Linked DNA regions of Homo sapiens: region 1 is linked to region 2. The links are contacts of gene promoters, found by promoter capture Hi-C in human tissues and cell types (Jung and others, 2019). All regions are on one chromosome and are shown on one strand. The core of a region is centred on a gene start or on the middle of the fragment in contact, and the rest is flanking DNA. Distances in the headings are between cores, read along the strand shown. Region 1 has its middle 5.4 kb from the start of IGFL4. Region 2 holds the start of NANOS2 (nanos C2HC-type zinc finger 2).

What was found. The method cuts DNA at HindIII sites, captures the fragments that hold promoters and counts their contacts. A contact is called where the count stands out against the background at its distance.
Region 1: a fragment that was not itself captured here is called in contact with the fragment with the promoter of NANOS2 in region 2 in 1 of the 25 tissues and cell types used here (IMR-90 fibroblasts).

The regions. Positions count from the first base shown.
Region 1 is chr19:46,044,691-46,048,180 of GRCh38, forward strand. It overlaps a transcript of IGFL4 not described here. Among named protein-coding and RNA genes, the nearest start is that of IGFL4, 5.4 kb to the left of the region's middle. The HindIII fragment of the contact is 3,232 bases long and covers 273-3,490 here.
Region 2 is chr19:45,912,198-45,916,108 of GRCh38, forward strand. It overlaps NANOS2 (nanos C2HC-type zinc finger 2), which reads right to left and starts at 2,581. Exons shown (of 1, transcript NM_001029861.3): 1 at 1,017-2,581. The coding sequence starts at 2,496. The coding sequence ends at 2,080. The HindIII fragment of the contact is 8,608 bases long and covers 1-3,911 here.

The DNA of each region.
Region 1 (3,490 bases), core at 639-3,138, 130 kb after region 2:
TGGGTGAGACCTCCTAACAAGGGTCTCCAGCCACCTCCTACAGGGACGTTTGGGTCAACAACTGGTCAGAGGAAGGAGCAGGCTGCCATCTTTGCTGTTTTGCAGCCTTCACTGGTGACACCTTCAGGTACGGGAAAAACGGAGGCAACCAGGGTCTTGAACAAACCCCCAGCACACCACAGCAGCCCTGTGGAATAGTGGCCTGACTGTTAAAAGAAAAACAAACAGAAAACACCAACAACATCAGCAAAAAAGACCCCACAGAAACCTCATTCAAAGGTCAGCAACTTCAAAAATCAAAGGTAAACCCACACAGATGAGAAAGAATCAATGCAAAAATGCTGAAAACTCAAAAAGCCAGAGTGCTTCTTCTCTTCCAAATGACCACAGTACCTCTCCAGCAAGGGCACAGAACTGGGCTGAGACCGAGATGGCTGAATTAACAGAAGTAGTTTTAAGAAGGTGGGTAATAGGCCAGGCGCAGTGGCTCACACCTTTAATCCCAGCACTTTGGGAGGCCGAGGCAGGTGGATCACGAGGTCAGGAGTTAGAGACCAGCCTGACCAACATGGTGAAACCCCCTCTCTACTAAAAATACAAAAGTTAGCTGGGCATGGTGGCACATGCCTATAATCCCAGATGCTGAGGAGGCTGAGGCAGGAGAATCGCTTGAACCCGGGAGGCAGAGGTTACAGTGAGCTGAGATCGCGCCACTGCACTCCAGCCTGGGTGACAAGAGTGAAACTCTGTCTCAAAAAAAAAAAAGAAAAAGATGGGTAATAATGAACTTCACTGAGCTAAAGGAGGATGTTGTATCCCATTGCAAATAAGCTAAGAATCATGATAAATTATACAGGAGCTGACAGAATAGCCAGTTTAGAGAGGAACATAACTGACCCAATGGAACTGGAAAACACAAGAACTTCACAATGCAATCATAAGTATCAGTTACAGAATAGTTCAAGCAGAGGAAAGAATTTCAGAGCTTAAAGACCGTCCTTCTGAAATTATACAGGCAGACAAGAATAGAGAAAAAAGAACAAAAAGAACTGAACAAAACCTCTGAGAAATATGTAAAGAGACAGAATCTATGACTGATTGGGGTACCTGAAAGAGACAGGGAAATTGGAACCAAGTTGGAAAACATACTCCAGGATATCATCCAGGAGAACTTCCCCAAACTTGCAAGACAGGCCAACATTCAAATTCAGTAAATACAGAGAACCCCAGTGAGATACTCCATAAGAAGATTTACCCCAAGACATATAATCAGCAGATTCTTCATTGTCGAAATGAAAGAAAAAATGTTAAGGGCAGCCAGAGAGAAAGGCCAGGTAACCTACAAAGAAAAGCCCATCAGACTACCAGCGGACCTCTCAGTGGAAATCCTACAAGCCAGAAGAGATTGGGGGCCAATATTCAACATTCTTAAAAGAATTTCCAACCCAGGATTTCATATCCAGCCAAACTAAGCTTCATAAGTGGAGAAATAAGGTCCTTTTCAGACAAGCAAATGCTGTGGGAATTCGTCACCACCAAGCCTGCCTTGCAAGAGCTCCTGAAGGAAGCAATAAATATGGAAAGGGAAAACCTTTACCAGCCACTACAAAAACACACTGAAATACACAGACAAGTAACACTATGAAGCAACCAACAAAACAAGTCTGTAAAATAACCAGCTAGCATCATGATGACAGGAACAAATTCACACATAACAATACTAACCTTAAATGTAAGTGGGCTAAATTCCTGAATTAAAAGACACAGAATGGCAAGTTGGATAAAGAGCCAAGACCCATTGATATACTGTCTTCGAGAGACCCATCTCACATGTGGGACACACATAGGCTCAAAATAAAGGGATGGAGGAGAAATTTATCAAGGAAATGGAAAACAGAAAAAAGCATGGGTTGCAACCCTAGTTTCTGACCAAACAGACTTTAAACCAACAAAAATCCAGAAAGACAAAGAAGGGTGTTACATAATGGTAAAGGGATCAATTGGACAAGAAGAGCTAAGTATCCTAAATATATATGCATCCAATACAGGAGAACCCAGATTCATAAAGCAAGTTCTTACAGATCTACAAGAGACTTAAGACTCCCACACAACAATAGTGGAATACTTTAACACCCACTGTCAATATTAGATCATCGAGACAGAAAATTAACAAAGATATTCAGGACCTGAACTCAGCTCTGGATCAAGTGGACCTGATAGATATCTACAGAACTCTCTACCCCAAACAACAGAATATACATTCTTCTCATTGCCACATGGCACTCACTCTAAAATTGATCACAAAATCAGAAGTAAAACACTCCTCGCAAAAGCAAAAGAACTGAAGTCATAACAAACAGTCTCTCAGACCACAGCACAACAAATTAGAAATCAAGATTTAAAAATTCACTCAAAACCACACAACTACATGGAAACTGAACAATCTGCTCCTGAATAACTCTTGGGTAAATAATGAAATCAAGGCAGAAAGCAAGAAATTCTTGAAACTAATGAGAACTAAGAGACAATGTACCCGATTCTCTGGGACACAGCTCAAGTGGTGTTAAGAGGGAAATTTATAGCAATAAATAACCCACATCAGAAAGCTAGAAAGATCTCAAGTTAACAACCTAACATCTCAACTAAAAGAACTAGAGAACCAAGAGCAAACCAACCCCAAAGCTAGCAGAAAACAAGAAATAACCAAGATAAGTTATTGGTTAACAGAAATAAGCAATAACTGAAGGAGATAGAAACACAAAAAGCCCTTCAAAAAATTAATGAATCCAGGAGCTGTTTTTTTGAAAAAATTTATAAAATAGATAGACTGCTAGCCAGACTAATGAAGAAGAAAAGAGAGAATAATCAAATAAACATAATCAGAAATGACAAGGGAGATATTACCACTGACCCCACGGAAATATAAACAAACATCACAGAATACTATAAACACCTTTATGCACATAAACTAGAAAATCTAGAAGAAATGGATACATCCCTAGACACATACACCCTCCCAAGACTAAACCAAGAAGAAACTGAATCCCTGAATAGACCAATTATGATTTCCGAAATTGGGGGGTAATAAATAGCCTACCAACCAAAAAAAGCCCAAAGTTGGAAGCATTCACAGCTGAATTCTACCAGAAGTACAAAGATCTGGTACAATTTCTACGGAAACTATTCCAAAAAATTGAAAGTGAGGGATTCCTCCCTAATTCATCCTATGAGCCCAGCATCATCCTGATACCAAAACCTGGCAGAGATACAACAAAATAAGAAAACTTCAGGCCAATATCCTTGATGAACATCAATGCAAAAAACCTCAGTAAAATACTGGCAAACCAAATCCAGCAGCACAGCAAAAAGCTTATCCACCATGACCACATTGGCTTCATCCCTGGGATGCAAGGTTGGTTCAACATACGCAAAGCAACAAATGTGATTCATCGTATAAACAGAACTAAAAACAAAACACACATGATTATCT
Region 2 (3,911 bases), core at 1,331-3,830:
AATCCCAGCACTTTGGGAAGCCGAGAAGGGCAGATCACCTGAGGTCAGGAGTTCAAGACCAGCCTGGCCAACATGGCGAAGCCCCATCTCCACTAAAAAAATATATATGTATATATATAAAATTAGGCAGGTGTGAGGCACTCTGGAGCCTGAGGCAGGAGAATCGCTTGAACCCGGGAGGCAGAGGTTAGTTACAGTGAGCCGATATCGGGCTACGGCACTCCAGCCTGGGTGACAGAGCGAGACTCCATCACAAACAAACAAACAAACAAAAAAGTCCAGGCGCAGTGGCTCATGCCTGCAATCCCAGCACTTTGAGAGACCGAGGTGGGCGGATCACCTGAGGTCAGGAGTTCGAGTCCAGCCTGGCCAAAATGGTGAAACCCCGTCTCTACTAATAATACAAAAAAAAAAAAAAAATTAGCCGAGCGTGTTGGTGGGCGCCTGTAATCCCAGCTACTTGGGAAGCTGAGGCAGAAGAATCGCTTGAACCTGGGAGGTTCAATGGTGCAGTGAGCCGAGACCGCACCATTGGCACTCCAGCCTGGGCAGCAAGAACGAAACTCCATCTCAAAAAAGAAAAAACAAAAACCAAAAATAAAAATTACCTGGGTGTGGTGGCGTGCACCTGTAGTCCCGCCTACTCGGTCACCCCGTCTCTACTAAAAATACAAAAATGGCCAGGCGTGGTGGTGCATGTCTATAATCCCAGCTACTCCGGAGGCTGAGAGGCAGGAGAATCGCTTGAACCCGAGAGGCAGAGGTTGCAGTGGGCCGAGATCGCGTCATTGCACTCCAGCCTGGGCGACAACAGCAAAACTCCGTCTCAAAAAAAAAAAAAAAAATTAGCCAGGCGTGGTGGGGCGCACCTGTAGTCCCAGCTATTCAAGAGGCTGAGGGAGGATAATCACTTGAATCCGGGCAGTGAGCCAAGATCGCACCACTGCACTCCAGCCTGGGCGACAGAGCAAGACCTTGTCTCACAAACAAACCAAAGACGGAAACAGATACAGCCATTTCAAAGACGACTAGAAAACCTTTTTATTCACCAGAGCTCAATACTCAGGGTCCCGACCCTGTGCCAAAAACTGAACAACTTAAAATCTGACGGGGGCCCTTCTTCTCTTTGCCCCTAAAATAAAAGCTAGGCCATTGCCATTCCCATCCGGGTACTCAAACCCCCTTCTTATCGGCGGTTCCTTGACTTGAACGTTGGAGGTTGAAAAACACAGGAGGAAAAAAAAATGTCCTTTAGTCAACTATCACGATTTGGGGGGTCGGACGGGAGGTGGTCGAGAGATATGCTTCTCGCTGGGGGAAAGGACCCATCGGTGATTTGGGGATGGGGGCAGGTACCGGGTGCAATGGGCTGAACAAGGGGAAGAACAACCAGGGGGCATTGAAAGGTGTCAGCTCACCCCACGGCTCTCCATCCACAGGTGAGCCTGCGAAGACACGGTGCCCTCCAGTGATACGGTGCTCTCCAGAGTCCTACTCCGCTCCTGACGGATGGGTACTGAGGTCAGGGAAGGAATGAACAGGCGTGGTCCACGATGACACCGTGGTTCTGCAGGAGGCTGAAGATGGAGAAGGCTGGTCTTAAGTCGACATCCCATCTTGAAGTTCTTGAGTAGGCACTTCTCAGCCAGCCTTGTTCAGTATCTCCTAAGGGCTGGCTTGGGACAGCACCGTGGAATCCTGGAGGTTCAAAAATCCAAGAACTCCACAAGGAACAGAGAAGTCGAAGGGGCAGGGCTCCAGTCACCAGCAGGCCCCACGAGGACAAAAGATCCATGAACCGGGGCCCAGAGGGCGCTACAGGGCCGTGCAGGAAGGGTTCCCGCGGCACCAAGGACCCTCAGGCCAACGCCCACAGGCCAGAGCTCCGAGGGCTGACAGGTCCAAGGGGGCGGGGCTGGCCTGGCTCCCAGCAGCCTCCACTGTTTCAGGATCCAGCCAGGGTGGAGTTCTGGGGGCCAGAAATTCCAAAGGGCTGGGTGACTGGAAGAGAGAGTTTAGGGACTTGGGTGGGATGGACCAGGAGGGTCAGGGGTGCGGGTGGTGAGCATCTCACGATGCTCAGCGCTTGACCCTGCGTCCGGCCGAGTTGCGCCCGCTGCGGCGGTAGAGGGACTGCTGGCCACCGTTAAGCGGGCAGTACTTGAGCGTATGGGCCTGGTCACCGGTGGCCCCGCACACGGGACACACGTAGTGCCTCAGGATGGGACACACCACCACGCCATCCGGTGTCTTCAGCTGGTGTGAGGAGTAGACGTGGCGGGACTCCCCGTTGTGCTTGCAGAAGTTGCACAGGGTCCCCAGGCCCCCGTTGGCCCCTGGCGCCCCCAGCCCCTGATCCTGCCCCAGCGGAGGCCCGGGACTTGGCTCCTCAATCTCTTGGGTCTCCAGCCTTTGACCCCGACTTGCGATCAGCGCCCACACCACCTGGCTCAGGTTGAAGTAGTCCTTCCACATGTCGAAGGGTGGCAGCTGCATGGCACCAAAGCAGGGGTGGTGGGCCACAGGAGAGGGGCTGGGGCTGGGGGCCCGTGGGCAAGGGCAAGAGCAGCAGGCGTTTCCCAGAGCAGAAGGGAGCTGCATCCCCTTTTATAACGCCCAGAGACTCTTCTAAGTAAAGGTGGAGCTTAGGATTTAAAGGGCTCACTCCCTGCCCATAACCCCCATCTGACTTTAGTTCTTCACAGAGATGTGGAAGGAGGTCATTCCCCTGATCTCTGGTCCCAGCTCTGCTGCCAAGGTGCTCTGTGACCTCTGGGAAGACACTTCCATTCTCTGTGCCTCAGTTTCCCTATCTGTTCAAAGAAAGTCCATGTCTGCAAATATCCCCCACCCCTAGGCTGGAGGGGCTGCACCCTTCATAGACTTCAGAGTTATTCCTAATCATCATAGCAGCCAGGCTGGGCGCAGTGCCTCACACCTGTAATCCTGGCACTTTGGGAGGCTGAGGAAAGAGGATCGCTTGAGCCCAGGACCTCTAGGCCAGCGTGGGCAAAATAGCGAGACCTTGTCTCTACAAAAAATAAAAAGACAAAAATAATAATAACAACATGACCTGATTTATTTTATTTATTTATTTACTTGAGACGGAGTCTTGCTATGTCGCCCAGGCTGGAGTGCAATGGCACGATCTCAGCTCACTGCAACCTCTGCCTCCTGGGTTCAAGTGATTCTCCTGCCTCAGCCTCCTGAGTAGCTGGGATTACAGGCGCCCACCACTAAGCCTGGCTAATTTTTTTTTTTTTTTTTTTTGTATTTTTAGCAGAGACAGGGTTTCACCATATTGGCCAGGCTGGTCTCGAACTCCTGACCTCAGGTGATCCACCTGTCTCTGCCTCCCAAAGCGCTGGGATTACAGGCGTGAGCCACCGCACCCGGCCTAGTATTTTCATTTTACAGAGAAAGATATGAAGCTTGGAGAGGTTAAGGAATGTATCCAAGGTCACACAACAAGGAAATGGCAGAGTCGGGTTTCATAATCACTCTGGGAACTGGGAATTGATGTTAAAAGTGGCAGAGGAACTTGGCACAGAACAATCTCACTTAGAATGCCCCCTCTTGGGCTAGGCATGCTGGCTCACGCCTGTAATCCTAATATTTTGGGAGGCTGAGGCTAGAGAATCACTTGAAGCCAGAAGTTTGAGACCAGCCTGGGTAACATAGTGAGACCCTGTTTCTACATATAATACAAAATCAGCTGGGCATGGTGGCATGTGCCTGTAATCCTAGCTAGTGAGGAGGCTGAGGCAGGAAGATCACTTGAGCCCAGGAGGTTTAGGCTTCAGTGAGCCATGATTGTGCCACTGCAGTCCAGCCTGGGCTACAGAGTGGACCCTGTCTTTTTTTTTATGAGATGGAGTCTTGCTCTGTCACCCAAGCTGTAGTGCAGTGGC